5 separate regions of the Homo sapiens genome follow, and regions 2, 3, 4 and 5 are each linked to region 1. The links are contacts of gene promoters, found by promoter capture Hi-C in blood cells and fetal thymus (Javierre and others, 2016). All regions are on one chromosome and are shown on one strand. The core of a region is centred on a gene start or on the middle of the fragment in contact, and the rest is flanking DNA. Distances in the headings are between cores, read along the strand shown. Region 1 holds the start of PFDN4 (prefoldin subunit 4). Region 2 holds the start of FAM210B (family with sequence similarity 210 member B). Region 3 has its middle 72 kb from the start of ZFP64. Region 4 has its middle 54 kb from the start of ZFP64. Region 5 overlaps RTF2 (replication termination factor 2).

Region 1 (2,700 bases), core at 54-2,553:
ATGTAACCTTCCATTAAGCCTGATATTAAAGAGATCAGTGAAAATGTAAAATGATGACAATCTTCTCAATTTATTTTTGTCTTAGAAAATATAGTTATTTTTAAAGTGTGATTTTTATTACCATGGAATGGAGTTTTATATTATTTTAAATGAATTAATAAATACATTTTAAAAATTCTGCTTTAATTTCTAATACAGCAAATATCGATAAATAACCCACATAAACAAAAGTTCTTTGGAGTCCTCAGTAATTTCCAGGAGTATAAAGAGGTCCTAAGGCAAAAAAAAAAAAAAAAATTACTAATTGGGAGACACAAGTGTCAGAATATACAGTAATTGTTCAGTAATATTGCTGTAAATTAATTAATAGGATTGCCTAGTCACAACAGCAAAGGCATGGAATCAACCCAGATGCCCATCAGTGGTGGATAGGATAAAGAAAATGTGGTCCATATACACCATGGAATACTATGCAGCCATAAAAAAGAACAAAATCATGTCCTTTGCAGCAACATGGATGCAGCTGGACATCATTATCCTAAGTGAATTAACACAGAAACAGAAAACCAACCACTCATGTTCCCACTTATGAGTGACAGCTAAACACTGGGTACTCGTGGACATAAAGGTGGGAACAATAAATGCTACGGATTCCAAAAACGGGGAAGGAGGCAGGGGAAAGGGGTTGAAAAATTACCTGTGGGGTACTATGTTCACTACTTGGGCAACGGGATCATTAGAAACCCAAACCTTAGCACCATGCAGTATATCCATGTAATAAACCGGCACACATACCCCCCGAATTTAAATTAAAAAAAAATTACATTAAAAGATAGGAGTACCTCCTTTACACCACCTGAATTATCATGGCACATAAATCTCACACCCTATTTGCCAAGGCCATTCGTTCCTAGCTGTTTTACAGGTAGGTTAGCTTTCTCAATGCAAGTCTGTGGGACGGATGGAGAAAAATTCCCCGAGCCCTTTGATCCTGCCCCAGCTGGGCCCCGCCGCGCTGAGCCTTGGGCGCGCCCCCTGCTGCCCGCGGCCGGAGCCGTTCGCCACACCCCCGTGTTTATGTCGGTCCACGGGGGTTGCCTGTCCCTTTAATTGGCATGTACCAAGTCCTTCCAGGTCACATTTCCTCCCTACGTCCCAGCCGTTTGGACTCACTGGCCAAAAGTCCAAGAGGACGGAATGTGGAGACAGTGTTGTATTTTTGCGGGGAGTTCTAGGCCGACCGGGAGCGAGAGAACGCTCGGGGGCGAAGCGCGCCATTGCGGCCCTCCCCGCCGCCTGCGGTAGTCCAGTCCCAAGATGGCGGCCACCATGAAGAAGGCGGTGAGTGGGGAGCTCGGGGCTCTGGATGCTCGGGCGGCGCCGGATCTCGGCCGCTGGGGCCCGGGCGCGGGATGCTGGGGGTGCGCAGCTCCGAAGCCCGGCGTGGGACCCGAGGCCGAGGCCGAGGCCCTGAGAGCGGTCCCGCGGCAAGGCCTGCTCGCGCCTGGCGCCCTGAGCGTTTTCCTAGGCACCTGGCCAGCCGAGGCGGGGCGCCGGGGCTGGGGCCGGGAGCCTCGAAGGACGCAGGTCCGCCTCCCGCGATGCCGAGGGTGCCCCCGGGGAGTCTGAGGAACCTGCAGCCCCGGCCTCGCCCCTGAGGTGTGGGAAGCCGAAGGTCCCGTTGAGTGTGGTTGGCCTTGACTCGGGCGTTGCACCGGCATGATCGCATTAGCCTCACTGGTTATGGGTAGCTGCTGCTGGGAGCGTGGTTACGGGTGAGGAAACTGAGGCCCAGAGATGGGGAGTCACCTGCCCGAGGTTACGCAGCTCATAACGGGGACAGCAGGTTCCTGCATCCCCAGATTAGCAGGCCCCAGAGACCCTGTGTCCAACCTGGAGCTGCCCATTTCCACGCTTGATGCCCCTGAGTCCTTCAGGCTAAAACCAGTATTTATTGAGAATGGAAGATGTGCCGGGCCCAGCAGCCGGCCGTTTATCTGTTATCCTCCCCGCAACTCAGCAAGTGCAATGGGTTCCTCTCCACTTTGCAGGTAGAGAAACTTAGACACAGAGCAGTTAGAGGCCCTAAAGTGACTCAGCTAGTAAGAAGCAGAGCTGGAGTTCAAACTCAGGTTTGTTTTTGTTTTTCTCAAAGCACGCCTGTGTAACCACTAAGCCGGCTAAACTTCCATGTGGGGTTTTTAATCCCGTGAGCCTTCCCAGATGTGTAAAGATAGTCAGATAGAAGAAAAAGAAAATTGGAGAGGGGGAAGGAGATAACGGCTGATAATTTGGGGAGCTTTACAGTGTGCTAGGTACAGCTGTAAGTTGTTTTGCGTGTATTGTTTATTTTATGTTCTTTGAGGGAGATACTGTTTTTATCCTTATTTAACAATGAGAAAACAGGCGCGGAGGCAAAGCTAGCATTTAAACACAGGCATTCTGACTCCGGAGTCTGTGTTTTAAACTGCTATAGGGGGTCTTTGATGAGAATCTCTTGGCTGGAGGGATTTGCGTTCATTCCACTTTTAAGACCACATTAGAACTTCTTTGCTTTGCCCCTATCCAGTACCACATAGTCTATGCCATCTGTGCCTGGTGTAGGGTGACCCATTGCCCCCTTTTATATGAAATTGAGGGACTGCCAAAAATGGGAAAGCCCCAGCCAACTCAGGATGTGTTGCTCACCCTACTATTCTG
Region 2 (2,700 bases), core at 131-2,630, 2.2 Mb after region 1:
TTCTTTTTCTAGAGAGACAGGGTCTCGCTCTGTCACCCAGGCTGGAGTGCAGTAGCACCATCGTGGCTCCCTGAAACCTGGACCTCCTGAGCTCAAGCAATTCTGCGTCAGCCTCCCGAGTAGTTGGGACTACAGGTGCATGCCACCACACCAGGCTAATTTATTTTTATTTTTGTAGTGACAGGGTTTCGCTATGTTGCTCAGGCTGGTCTTGAACTCCTGAGCTCAAGTAATCCTCCCACCTCAGCCTCCCAACGTGCTTGGATTATAGGCATGAGCCATTCCACCCAGCCAGAACATCTTTATTGAAGTATAATTTACACAGCATAAAATTCATCCATGTTAAGTGTACAGTCCCACGAGTTTTAGTTACACAGCTGTCACCATCCCTACAATCTGGGTTTAGGATCCTTCCCTCACCCCAAGACGTTCCTCCCACTCCTTGGCAGTCAATCTCATTTCCCACTCCCAGCCCTAGGCCACCACGGATCTGTTTTAGGTCTCTGTGATTTTGCCTATTCTGGGCACTTCATGTAGCTGGAATCCTCCAGTGTGTGACTTTTGTGCCTAGATTTTTTCAATTGGCATAAGAGCTTTGAGATTCATTTATGTTGTGCATGTATCAGTAGTCTGTTCCCTTTAATTGTTGCATTGCGTCCCATTGAAGACTTGTGCCACAGTACGTCCCAGTTTATGGGCATTCCTAATTGTTGACTAATATTTATAAGATCTCTACAAACATTGGTGTCTTCACATTTTAGTCTTTGAGTGTCGAGCCTTTGTTTCTCTTGAGAAGCTACCGAGGAGTGGAGTTGCTGGGTTGTATGGTTAGTGTATGTCTAACTTTTCAAGAAACTGCCACACCATCTTTCGCTTTACATTCACGCCAACAATCTATGAGGGTCAGAGGACTTTTTATTAAACATGTACTAATATCAATTCTCATATTTATTTTCTTCTTTGGAGCTAACACGTAAACATATCTATAATTTTTTTTCAGATTTCACCCATTTCTGCAGGGAGAAAAGCTCATAAGCCACGGCCCTACGCCCACCTTTGTGCCCGCAGAATAAGGAAACCCGCCAACTACACACCACAGTTAGAAAGCCCAAGACCCTGAAAAGACCTGCACCCACCCCCAAAGGGGCGGGGCTGGTGGGCGGAGAGGAGGCGGGGCGCGCTCCTTCAGCCCCGCCCACCAGCCCTGGACTCCGGCTCCCGAGGAGCGGAGCTAGCGGGTGAGCCAAGGGGATGTGCACAGGCCTCCTCAGTCCCGCCCAGCGCGCGCGCGCGGCGGCGAAGCCGGCGGGCGGGGCCGGGGAGGGCCCTCGCCGGGTCAGCTCCGCCCACCCTCCCCGGCCTCCGCCCGCCTCCCGGGTCAGCGGCGCGGGTGCTGCGCCTAGCTGCGCACCATGGCCGGGTTGCTGGCGTTGCTGGGTCCGGCAGGCAGGGTGGGCGCCCGGGTCCGGCCTCGCGCCACCTGGCTCCTGGGCGCCACCGCCCCCTGCGCCCCGCCGCCCCTGGCCCTGGCCCTGCTCCCGCCCAGGCTAGACGCCCGGCTGCTCCGCACGGCGCGCGGGGACTGCCGCGGCCACCAGGTAAGCACCCCACCCCGACCCTGATCCCGGGCGGTGTCCAGGTCCCCAGACGTCCGCAGGGCCGCGCCGGGGTCCGGCCGCCTCCGCCAAGGACGCCTTTGCACTTGTAGCTGCCCGGGACCGAGCTCTTCCAGGGTCCCCGAAACCCCAAATCCCTGCAAGCCAAGGAAGCGATCCTCCTAGTTGACAGCCAGAGAAACTGAGGCTCGGGAAGGTGTGGCGCTCTGCCCAAGGTCGCGCAGTCTTCGGCCGAGCCCCGGGTCTGCAGAGCCTCAGCCAGGCTGGGGCGCAGCCGACTGACTTGGTCTGAACTTCCACACGTTGCCTGCGGAGTTGTTGTCCAGGCCTTCTGGCTGGGTCTCGCTGTGTTTTGAACACCTCCCGACGCTCGCTGCTCCTCCCTTTTCTTCTGAGTGGAAGAGCAGGCGTCCTCAGGGAAGCCGCGGGCAAGAAACCCACAGTGCTGTTTGTTATGTTTCATTTCCGTCACTTTCCATTGGTGCTAAGTGAAAACTGGTTTTCCTTCAGAGCAGTCATACCAGCTTTCCTTTCAAGAAATCTATCACTTTCTTCCAAGTGAGTCTTTTTAAATAAAAATAGTAGTAAATGAAGTCTGGCGGTCCAGGAATGGCAAGCCCAGACACGCGGAGCCGGCGTCCAGCCCGGAGCGCATCCGGCCTGGCAGTCTGGAGCCTCTTTGTTTGCCTGGGTGCAGACAGGGCCCCTCCATTCATCGCCCGGTGACCTCAGACCGAGTCCTGAAGGCTTTTGAGCTTGTTTTCTGACCTTTAGAGGGCCAAAAATAGCACCTTCCCAGCAAGAGTTTGGGAGACAACTCCATGAGCTGGTGCAGGCCTCAGCGGAGTGCCGCCGGCCCAGCGAACATCTCCTGACCGTTTCCTAGCTTTTCAGTAAGGAGCGGATGGGGATTGGACCCAGGCTTTCATCATGCCTCCTGCCCAGATCAACTTCCTTCCTTGCCTTCTCCAGTCCGACAGGTGGCACACAGGTCTTGGGGATCCTCTCCAGAGTGGCACCTTCTGCACACACCGTGCCGCCTCCTGATGATTCTTCAGGGCCCAGCCCAGCTGTTCCTTCCTCC
Region 3 (2,700 bases), core at 139-2,638, 2.1 Mb before region 1:
TGGGTTGCCACTGGGGGCAAGGCTTTGCTAACCTTTGGGAATATGAAAGCAAGTCTTTAAAGAAGTTGCAGAGCAATCAGGAGGATAAATAAGTAAACAGCTATAGTACAGTGTGATAAATATGTGATAAAGGTTCTCACAGAGTGGGCAGGTAAAGCTTCCTCAGAGAGGTGGATTTGTAGCCCTGGCTATGTAGGATGAGATCTTGGGCAGGTAAAGAAGTGAAGTAGGTTGGGTGCAGTGGCTCGCGCCTGTAATGCCAACACATTGGGAGGCCAAAGTGAATGGACTGCTTCCGGCCAGGAGTTAGAGGCTGGCTGGGGCAACATAGTGAAACCCCGTCTCTACAAAAAATACAGTAATTAGCTGGGTGTGGTGGTGTGTGCCTGTGGTGGCAGCTATCAAAAAAGGTCGAGGGCAGGAGGATTGCTTGAGCCTGGGAGCTGGAGGCTGCAATGAACTATGATCATGCCATTGCATTCCAGCCTGGGTGACAGAGCAAGACCCTGTCTCAAAAATAAAGTAAAATAAATAAAAGCAAAAAAGAAGTGAGTTGAAGTGGGTTTCAGGTAGGGGGACAGCTTGTACAAAGACCAGGAGGGAAGCTGGGTTCGGTGGTTCACGCCTGTAATCCCAGCACTTTGGGAGGCTGAGGTGGGTGGATCACCTGAGGTCAGGAGTTCAAGATCAGCAGGCCAACATGTCGAAACCCCGACTCTACTAAAAATACAAAAATTAGCCGGGCGTGGTGGTGCACAGCTGTAATCCCAGCTACTCAACTACTCAGGAGGCTGAGGCAGGAGAATCGCTTGAACCCAGGAGGCGGAGGTTGCAGTCAGCCAAGACTGTCACTTCACTCTAGCCTGGGAAACAGAGTGAGACTTCATCTAAAAAAAAAAAAAATATATATATATATATATATACATATATATATATACACACACAACACACACACACACACACACACATATAAACACAAAAAAATTAGTCAGGCATGGTGGCGTGCACCTGTAGTCCCAGCTACTCTGGAGGCTGAAGCAGGAGACTTGCTTGAACCTGGGAGGCGGAGGTTGCAGTGACAGAGAAAGACTCTGTCTCAAAACAAACAAAAAAACAACCAAACAAAAAACAACCCCTCCCCACTCACTACAAAGACCAGGAGGCAAAGAGACGGCACTTTTGAGAAACCTTAGTCTGACTAGAGGTGCAGGGAGTACAGGAGATAAGGTGAAGGAGTTGGGTGGGGAGGAGGTGTGAAGGGTTTCATATGGCAAAAAGAATATGATTAAATAATTTCCTATTTTTCCTTTCCCCTGTGAATGTTTGTGCCTCCCCACAATTCATATGTTGAAATCCTAACCCCCACATGATGGTATTAAGAACACGGCTTTGGGCAGGTGTTTGGATCATGGAGCTGGAACTCTCCTGGAAGGAATTAGTGCCCTTATAAAAGAGGCATCAGAGAGCTGCCTTCCCCTTCCACCATGTGTGGACACAGCTAGAAGGTGCCATTTATGAGAAAGTGGGGTCCTTGCCAGACACCGAATCTGCCAGTGCCTTGATCTTGGACTTTCCAGCCTCTAGAACTGCAAGAAATAAATTTTTGTTGTGTGTAAGCTACCCAGTCTACGGCACTTTGTTATAGCAGTTAGAGGGTGTCTGGGACACCCTCTTTCCCCTGTTAAACCTCAGACACATCCAGAGGCAAATCTCAGGCCTGGTTTGGGAAGGTGCCTGAGAGCCAATGAAGGAGAATGATGATCCTCGTCGTGGTAATGACTATGAGGATGGAAAGAGGGCATCGATAGATGGCTCACCATGTGCGTATACGCCACTTTATCGCACGTCACAGACACTGTGTGTTTTTTTCTTTTTTTACAAGTTGAAGGTTTGTGTCAACCCTGCATCCAGCAAGTGTATCGGCTTCATTTTTCCAATGGCATGTGCTCACTTTGTGTTTCTGTGTCATGCTGAGATAATTCTTGTAATATTTCAAACTTTATCATTTATTATATCTGTTAATGTGATCAGTGATCTTTTTTTTTTTTTTTTTTTTTTTTTTTGAGACGGAGTCTTGCTCTGTCACCCAGGCTGGAGTGCAGTGGCGTGATCTCGGCTCACTGCAACCTCCATCTTCCAGGTTCAAGAGATTCTCCAGCCTCAGCCTCCCTAGTAGCTGGGATTACAGGCATGTGCCACCATGCCCAGATAATTCTTGTATTTTTAGTACAGATGGGGTTTCGCCATGTTGGCCAGGCTGGTCTCAAACTCCTGACGTCAGGTGATCTGCCCGCCTTGGCCTCCTAAAGTGCTGGGATTGCAGGCATGAGCCACCTCACCCAGTCCATGATCAGTGATATTTGATGCTACCCTCGTAACTGTTTTAGGGTGCCATGAACTGTGCCCATGTAAGACGGGAACTTAATTGACAAGTGTTGTGTGTGTTCTGACTGCTCCACTGACCAGCCAGTCCCTTCTCTCTCCTTTTCTTCGAGCCTTTCTATTCCCTGAGACACAACATTGAAATTAGGCCAATTAATAACCCCACAGTGACCTATAAGTGTTCATGTGAAAGGGAGGGTGGTGCATCTCTCACTTTAAATCACAAGCTGGCAATGATTAAGCTTAGTGAGAAAGGCATGTCAAAAGCCAAGGCAGGCTGAAAGCTGGGCCTTTTGAGTCCAACAGCCAAGTCAAGGA
Region 4 (2,700 bases), core at 180-2,679, 2.1 Mb before region 1:
GAGAATTGCTTGAATCAGGGAGGTGGAGGTTGCAGTGAGCCGAAATCACACCACTGCACTCCAGCCTAGGCGATGGAGGGAGACTCTCTCAAAAAAAAAAAAAAAAAAAAAAAAGAAAAAACCAAAAAAAAGAACAACAACAACAACAACAACAAACAGGCATGATTAAGGACATCAATTCTCAGATCCTTAACTTCTAGGCATACCTTTTCCTAAAACTGATCACCTAAGAACGCGCAGAGAAAGTGACCCATTATTAATAAACCATACTGAACCAATGCATGGAGCCATAAAATCTGAGATATCACAGCATCAATGTTGAGAAGGCAAGTGATTCCATAATTGGGAAAGAAACCCCAGGTTGTTTTCAGTTCTTTGTTTTTAATAAAATTGACCCAATTAATGACAACTGATCAATATGTGATTTTCTGGCATAGAATTCAGAAAAAATTAAAATAATTGAGAAATATTGCTATAACAATACAACTTGTATTTCTATATTCTTATTTATGTGAATAAAACTCAGAGTTTACATCAATAAAAAAGAATTTGACACATAACTGAAAATAAACTGTATCTCATTCTAGCAACTGCTGAAAAATGGTTTTTTAAAAATTCATAATCATAAAGAATATATAAGCTAACTAAAAACCAGGCCTATCTACCTCATTAAAATAGAAAAACACCAGTACCTTGCTTATATTTAATAACTGTTTTTCAAATTATATAATATATATATGTTGCTTTGGTCAAAAGTTCCTAATTATCTTGTTTTTTTGAGATGGAGTCTCACTCTGTCTCCCAGGCTGGAGTATAGTGGCGTGATCTCGGCTCACTGCAACCTCTGCCTCCCGGGCAAGTGATTCTCCTGCCTCAGCCTCCTGAATAGCCGGGACTACAGGCATCCACCACCACACCCAGCTAATTTTTGTATTTTTAGCAGAGATGGGGTTTTGCCATGTTGGCCAGGCTGGTCTCAAACTCCTGACCTCAGGTGATCCACCCACCTTGGCCTCCCAAAATGCTGGGATTACAGGTGTGAGCCACCGTGCCTGGCCCTAATGGTAATTTGATATTGAAGAAATGTCTAAAGCTTGGAGCCCTGTGATCATAGAAAATAAAAGATGTGAATTTCAATTTATATAGCCATAATTTTGTTGCTGAGAAGTATGATGAAATAAATAATAATTTTTAAGATTAATAATATTTCCTATTTTGAAGCCCTGCTCTCTATCTGAGAAGTTTCAGAGATGGGTTCTCTCCACCTGACTGGCTAGAATGAGCCACTGCCTTGCTTTTTTTCCTGGTAACACCATCATTTTGTCTCAACTTTGCTGGGCTACAGGACCTAGGGCATCTAAGAAGTGGATCAGATTGGGATCCAACTTTTCATCTCCACCAGAACAGAGTTTAACGACTACTGAAGAAAAAAAGATCTTATGTCCAAGGGTATAATTCATCTGCCAGGACAAAAGAAGTCCCACCTATGTGCCCTTCTGAGGAATATGCTCCAGGAAGTACTCCAACCAAATGAAAATGAAATCAGAGTAAAAGCGCAACATAGGGAAGCTGAAGGGTGTAAGAAACTATGGTGAACAATGAATGCAGTAATTTTTGGTTAAATCTAAATGGAGATGGTCAATTGGGAATTTGAATGTAAGAGACATACCATAGGGCAAAACTTAACAAAGGCCTAGAAATAAACTTATAAGTCATCTCAGCAAAACTCAGAATTTGAGGATGGCGGCTGTAGAAGATGAAGTCCAAAAGCTTCCTCTCATCAGGGAAGAATTTCTTAATGGAAGATTGAGGCACGGTTAATGTTTACTTTTTACACAGCAGTAGGCAAATATATATTTAACAATCATTGTTAAATATTGGAAAGCAGGCCCGGTGCACTGGCTCATGCCTCTAATCCCAGCACTCTGGGAGGCAAAAGCGAGCAGATTGCTTGAGCCCAGGAGTTCGAGACCAGCCTGGGAAACACGGAAAAACCCCATCTTTACAAAAATAAATAAATAAATAAATAAATAAATAAATAAATAAATAAGCAAGCCAGGCATGGAGGCACACATCTGGAGTCCCAACTACTTGGGAGGCTGAGGTGGGAGGATCACTTGGGCTGGGGAGGTAAAGGCTGCAGTGAGCCAAGATCACTCCACTGCACTTTAGCCTGGGAGACAGAGACCCTATCTCAAAAAAACAACACACAAAAAATTGGAATGTAACTGTCAGCAGGATGGAGATGAATATATAACTTTCTAGAGATAGGAAATAAAGTTAAAAAGGAAAAAGGAGAAAACCACAAACTTTAATAAATAGCAAATATTAAATAAGATGGAAGTGAATAATAGCACATATATATTACTGTAATAAATACAAATGATTTGAATTGTCCTATCAAAGACAAGGAGAGGCTGATAAAGAAAGATACTGAATAACAGAATGGGCAGATATGAACCAGGCAAATGAAAAAAAAATACAAAATAAGACTTAGAATGTTATTATGAGATAAAGCATGATTTAAGGCCAAAAGCTATTATTACATAGAAGGAACAGGTACATGAGAAAAAAAGGAAAAAATGACAAAGAACGTAGAACAGCTACAAACTTTATATGCATCAAACAACATATGGCAAAATATAATAAAAAAAAAAGCACCCTGGTAATATAAGGAAAGCTTAGTTTTAAAAATGCAAT
Region 5 (2,700 bases), core at 125-2,624, 2.3 Mb after region 1:
GAGCCACGTCAGGATTGCACAAGGGACAGTAGAGACCAGGTGACGAACAGGAGCGAGCGTAGGCTCCTCCCGGCTCCTCGTGGAGGCCACCTTGGCTGTTGCGACTTTCTGCAGTTATGACAGGGCACTGGTTGAAATTCAGGAATACCTCAGGAAATTGTCTTAAAGATACATCTGTTGCCAACAAAGAATGAACGAGATAATGAATTATTTTTACTTTTATACTGTACATCAGAGTTGCCTTTGCAGAACTGTGTTGAATACTCTGTGCTAGTTTGTTGGGGCTGCTGTAATTAAGTACCCAAGCCGGATGACTTACCGGAAAGTCATTGTCTTATAGTTCTGGAGACTAACGTCCAAAATCAAGGTGTCATCAGGGTTAGTTTCTTCTGAGGGAAGGATCTGGTCCAGGCCTCTCATTGGCTTCTAGACGGCCTTCGCCCTGTTCACATCATCTTCCCTCTATCATGTCTGTCTTTGTGTCCACATTTTCCCTTATTAGGACACCAGTCCCGGTACTGGATTAGGGCCCAACTTAATGGCCTCATCTTAACTAATTACATCTGCATTGACTGTGTTTCCCAATAAGGTCACATTTTGAGGTACTAGGGCTTGGACTTCAACATATGGATTTTGCAGGGGGGCATAATTCAACCCATAATACACAATTTAGAAAATAAAATCATAGAGCGTGGGGCCAGACATGGTGGCTCACGCCTGTAATCTCAACACTTTGGGAGGCTGAGGTGGTTGGATCACTTGAGGTCAGGAGTTCGAGAACAGCCTGGCCAACATAATGAAACCCCGTCTCTACTAAAAATACAAAAATTAGCTGGGCTTGGTGGTGCATGCCTGTAGTCCGAACTACTTAGGAGACTGAGGCAGGAGAATTGCTTGAACCTGGGAGGTGGAAGTTGCAGTGAGCCAAGATCACGCCACTGCACTCCAGCCTGGGCGACAGAGCTAGACTCTGTCTCAAAAAAAAAAAGTGCCAATGTAGAGTACTGGAGTTGTGATCCGTAGCATTGGACTTGCTACCTCTGTGGCTTCATTTATGTAGGCTTTGTAGATAGGTGAATGGGGTGTGTGGATGTTTTAAAGTTAGAAGTCAAAAATATATATACTCACACTGTCTACCTGCTTTTCATGGAGGGGGTGGAGTAGAAAGAGAAAAAGTTAAGTTAGGGAAAAGGAGTGTCGTCAGAAGTGGTCAGTGCAGCTGATTCTGGTTTTCAGGCTTTGGCCTTCTTCAGAGTATCTTAGGTTTCTGCCATCTTTATAGTCTTTGTGAATATTTAGCCTCAAGGAATCAGATAAGACACAGCATAGGCAGCCTTAAACTTTCACATGTTCATTTTGTTCTTTCACTCTACCCATCAACAGACTGAGGGTCTGATAAGGAGAGAGTGAGCCTAGGCTTCTTGTTCTCATGCTCACGGAAGCTGCTGCTTTCCCTTGGCCTCCCTGGCCTGTCGCAGCTGCCTGTCTCAGCCTCCCTGCCTCTCGGCCTCCCTGCCTCTCAAGCCTCCCTGCCTCTCGGCCTCCCCACCTCTCTGACTCTTGGCCTTGTTTTCCATTGCTGTCCCCACTCTCCACTGAAGCCCAGTCTCAGGCTTTTACATTCCACATGCATTTAGTGTACTTTTATTATTCTGCTTTATCCTGCTGTTACTGAAATGATTTTTTTTTTTAGATGGAGTCTTGCTCTGTTGCCCAGGCTGGGGTGCAGTGGTGCAATCTTGGCTCACTATAACCTCTGCCTCCCAGGTTCAAGTGATTCTCCTGCCTTAGCCACCCGAGTAGCTGGGACTACAGGCGCCCACCACCATGCCTGGTTATTTTTTTTTTTTTTTTGTATTTTTAGTAGAGGCAGGGTTTCACCATATTGGCCAGGCTGGTCTGAAACTCCTGACCTCGTGATCCACCCGCCTCAGCCTTCCAAAGTGCTGGGATTACAGGCATGAGCCACCACGCCTGGCCATACTGAAATGATTTGTTCAGGACATGTCTTCATTATAGCATTAAGCCTGTTGGGGGCAGGTGTTTGTTTCAATTTGTGCTTCTTTGTGTGACGTAAGGTCATGTAGCTACCTGGGACTCAGTAGTCACACTGCAGAGTGTAGCTGCCTGGTCCAAATCCCAGCCCCACTTTCCCAGCTGTGTGGTCCCAGGAACATCCCATCATCTCCCTGTGCCTCGATTTTCTCATCCGTTAAAAGTGTCAGCCATTCTTCTGAGCACTTCCCCACCCAGGAGCACCCATGTCCTCCTAACGGTGCTGGTGGGCGGATGCTTTTACAGGGCCCCCTTCACGGTATGTGACTGGGTGTACCACGGGTTGACATTGGAATGAAGTGAAGGCAGGCTTATGTTTTAAGTAACTTGAAAGATGTAATCTTTTTTATTGTTCCTTTAATGGGGTTTACATTCAGTTGCTATTGAGTTATAAAATACCGGGGACATAATCGTGGCTAATCTGAGCTTTCTGAATGAACAGCCTGTCAGCATGTAGCCAGCTATCGCCTTTGGGGGCGCCGTGTTTGCCTGTAGAAATGTGTGGGAAGGTGGTGGTGGGCTGTCATGGGGCTCTTGTGTTCTTTTTGAAAGTCTTAATATTTTCCATATGTGCTTTCCTTGGATTAGATATCCAAGGGGAAGAAAGATTTGTTTAAACAAAGGTGTTACTTTTCTGTGGTTCCT

Evidence for each region. The method cuts DNA at HindIII sites, captures the fragments that hold promoters and counts their contacts. A CHiCAGO score of 5 or more calls a contact.
Region 2: a contact is called between the fragment with the promoter of FAM210B here and the fragment with the promoter of PFDN4 in region 1, in 3 of 17 cell types (M0 macrophages, erythroblasts and M2 macrophages). The highest score is 10.0, in M0 macrophages.
Region 3: a contact is called between a fragment that was not itself captured here and the fragment with the promoter of PFDN4 in region 1, in 2 of 17 cell types (naive CD4 T cells and total CD4 T cells). The highest score is 8.5, in naive CD4 T cells.
Region 4: a contact is called between a fragment that was not itself captured here and the fragment with the promoter of PFDN4 in region 1, in 2 of 17 cell types (non-activated CD4 T cells and naive CD4 T cells). The highest score is 7.2, in non-activated CD4 T cells.
Region 5: a contact is called between a fragment that was not itself captured here and the fragment with the promoter of PFDN4 in region 1, in 1 of 17 cell types (M2 macrophages). The highest score is 5.5, in M2 macrophages.

Annotation. Positions count from the first base shown.
Region 1 is chr20:54,206,784-54,209,483 of GRCh38, forward strand. PFDN4 (prefoldin subunit 4) reads left to right here and starts at 1,304. Exons shown (of 4, transcript NM_002623.4): 1 at 1,304-1,341. The coding sequence starts at 1,318. LOC124904937 (a long non-coding RNA gene) reads right to left here and starts at 1,258. Exons shown (of 2, transcript XR_007067669.1): 1 at 1,174-1,258; 2 at 163-273. RefSeq lists enhancers at 701-1,518, 1,059-1,378, 1,519-2,335 and a silencer at 1,369-1,638. The HindIII fragment of the contact is 8,273 bases long and covers 1-2,700 here.
Region 2 is chr20:56,357,594-56,360,293 of GRCh38, forward strand. FAM210B (family with sequence similarity 210 member B) reads left to right here and starts at 1,381. Exons shown (of 3, transcript NM_080821.3): 1 at 1,381-1,598. The coding sequence starts at 1,413. RefSeq lists a silencer at 1,058-1,657. The HindIII fragment of the contact is 7,749 bases long and covers 1-2,700 here.
Region 3 is chr20:52,118,632-52,121,331 of GRCh38, forward strand. It overlaps a transcript of ZFP64 not described here. Among named protein-coding and RNA genes, the nearest start is that of ZFP64, 72 kb to the right of the region's middle. The HindIII fragment of the contact is 2,467 bases long and covers 156-2,622 here.
Region 4 is chr20:52,136,007-52,138,706 of GRCh38, forward strand. It overlaps a transcript of ZFP64 not described here. Among named protein-coding and RNA genes, the nearest start is that of ZFP64, 54 kb to the right of the region's middle. The HindIII fragment of the contact is 677 bases long and covers 1,092-1,768 here.
Region 5 is chr20:56,487,384-56,490,083 of GRCh38, forward strand. The region is part of intron 5 of RTF2 (replication termination factor 2); the gene reads left to right. Among named protein-coding and RNA genes, the nearest start is that of RTF2, 20 kb to the left of the region's middle. The HindIII fragment of the contact is 2,876 bases long and covers 1-2,700 here.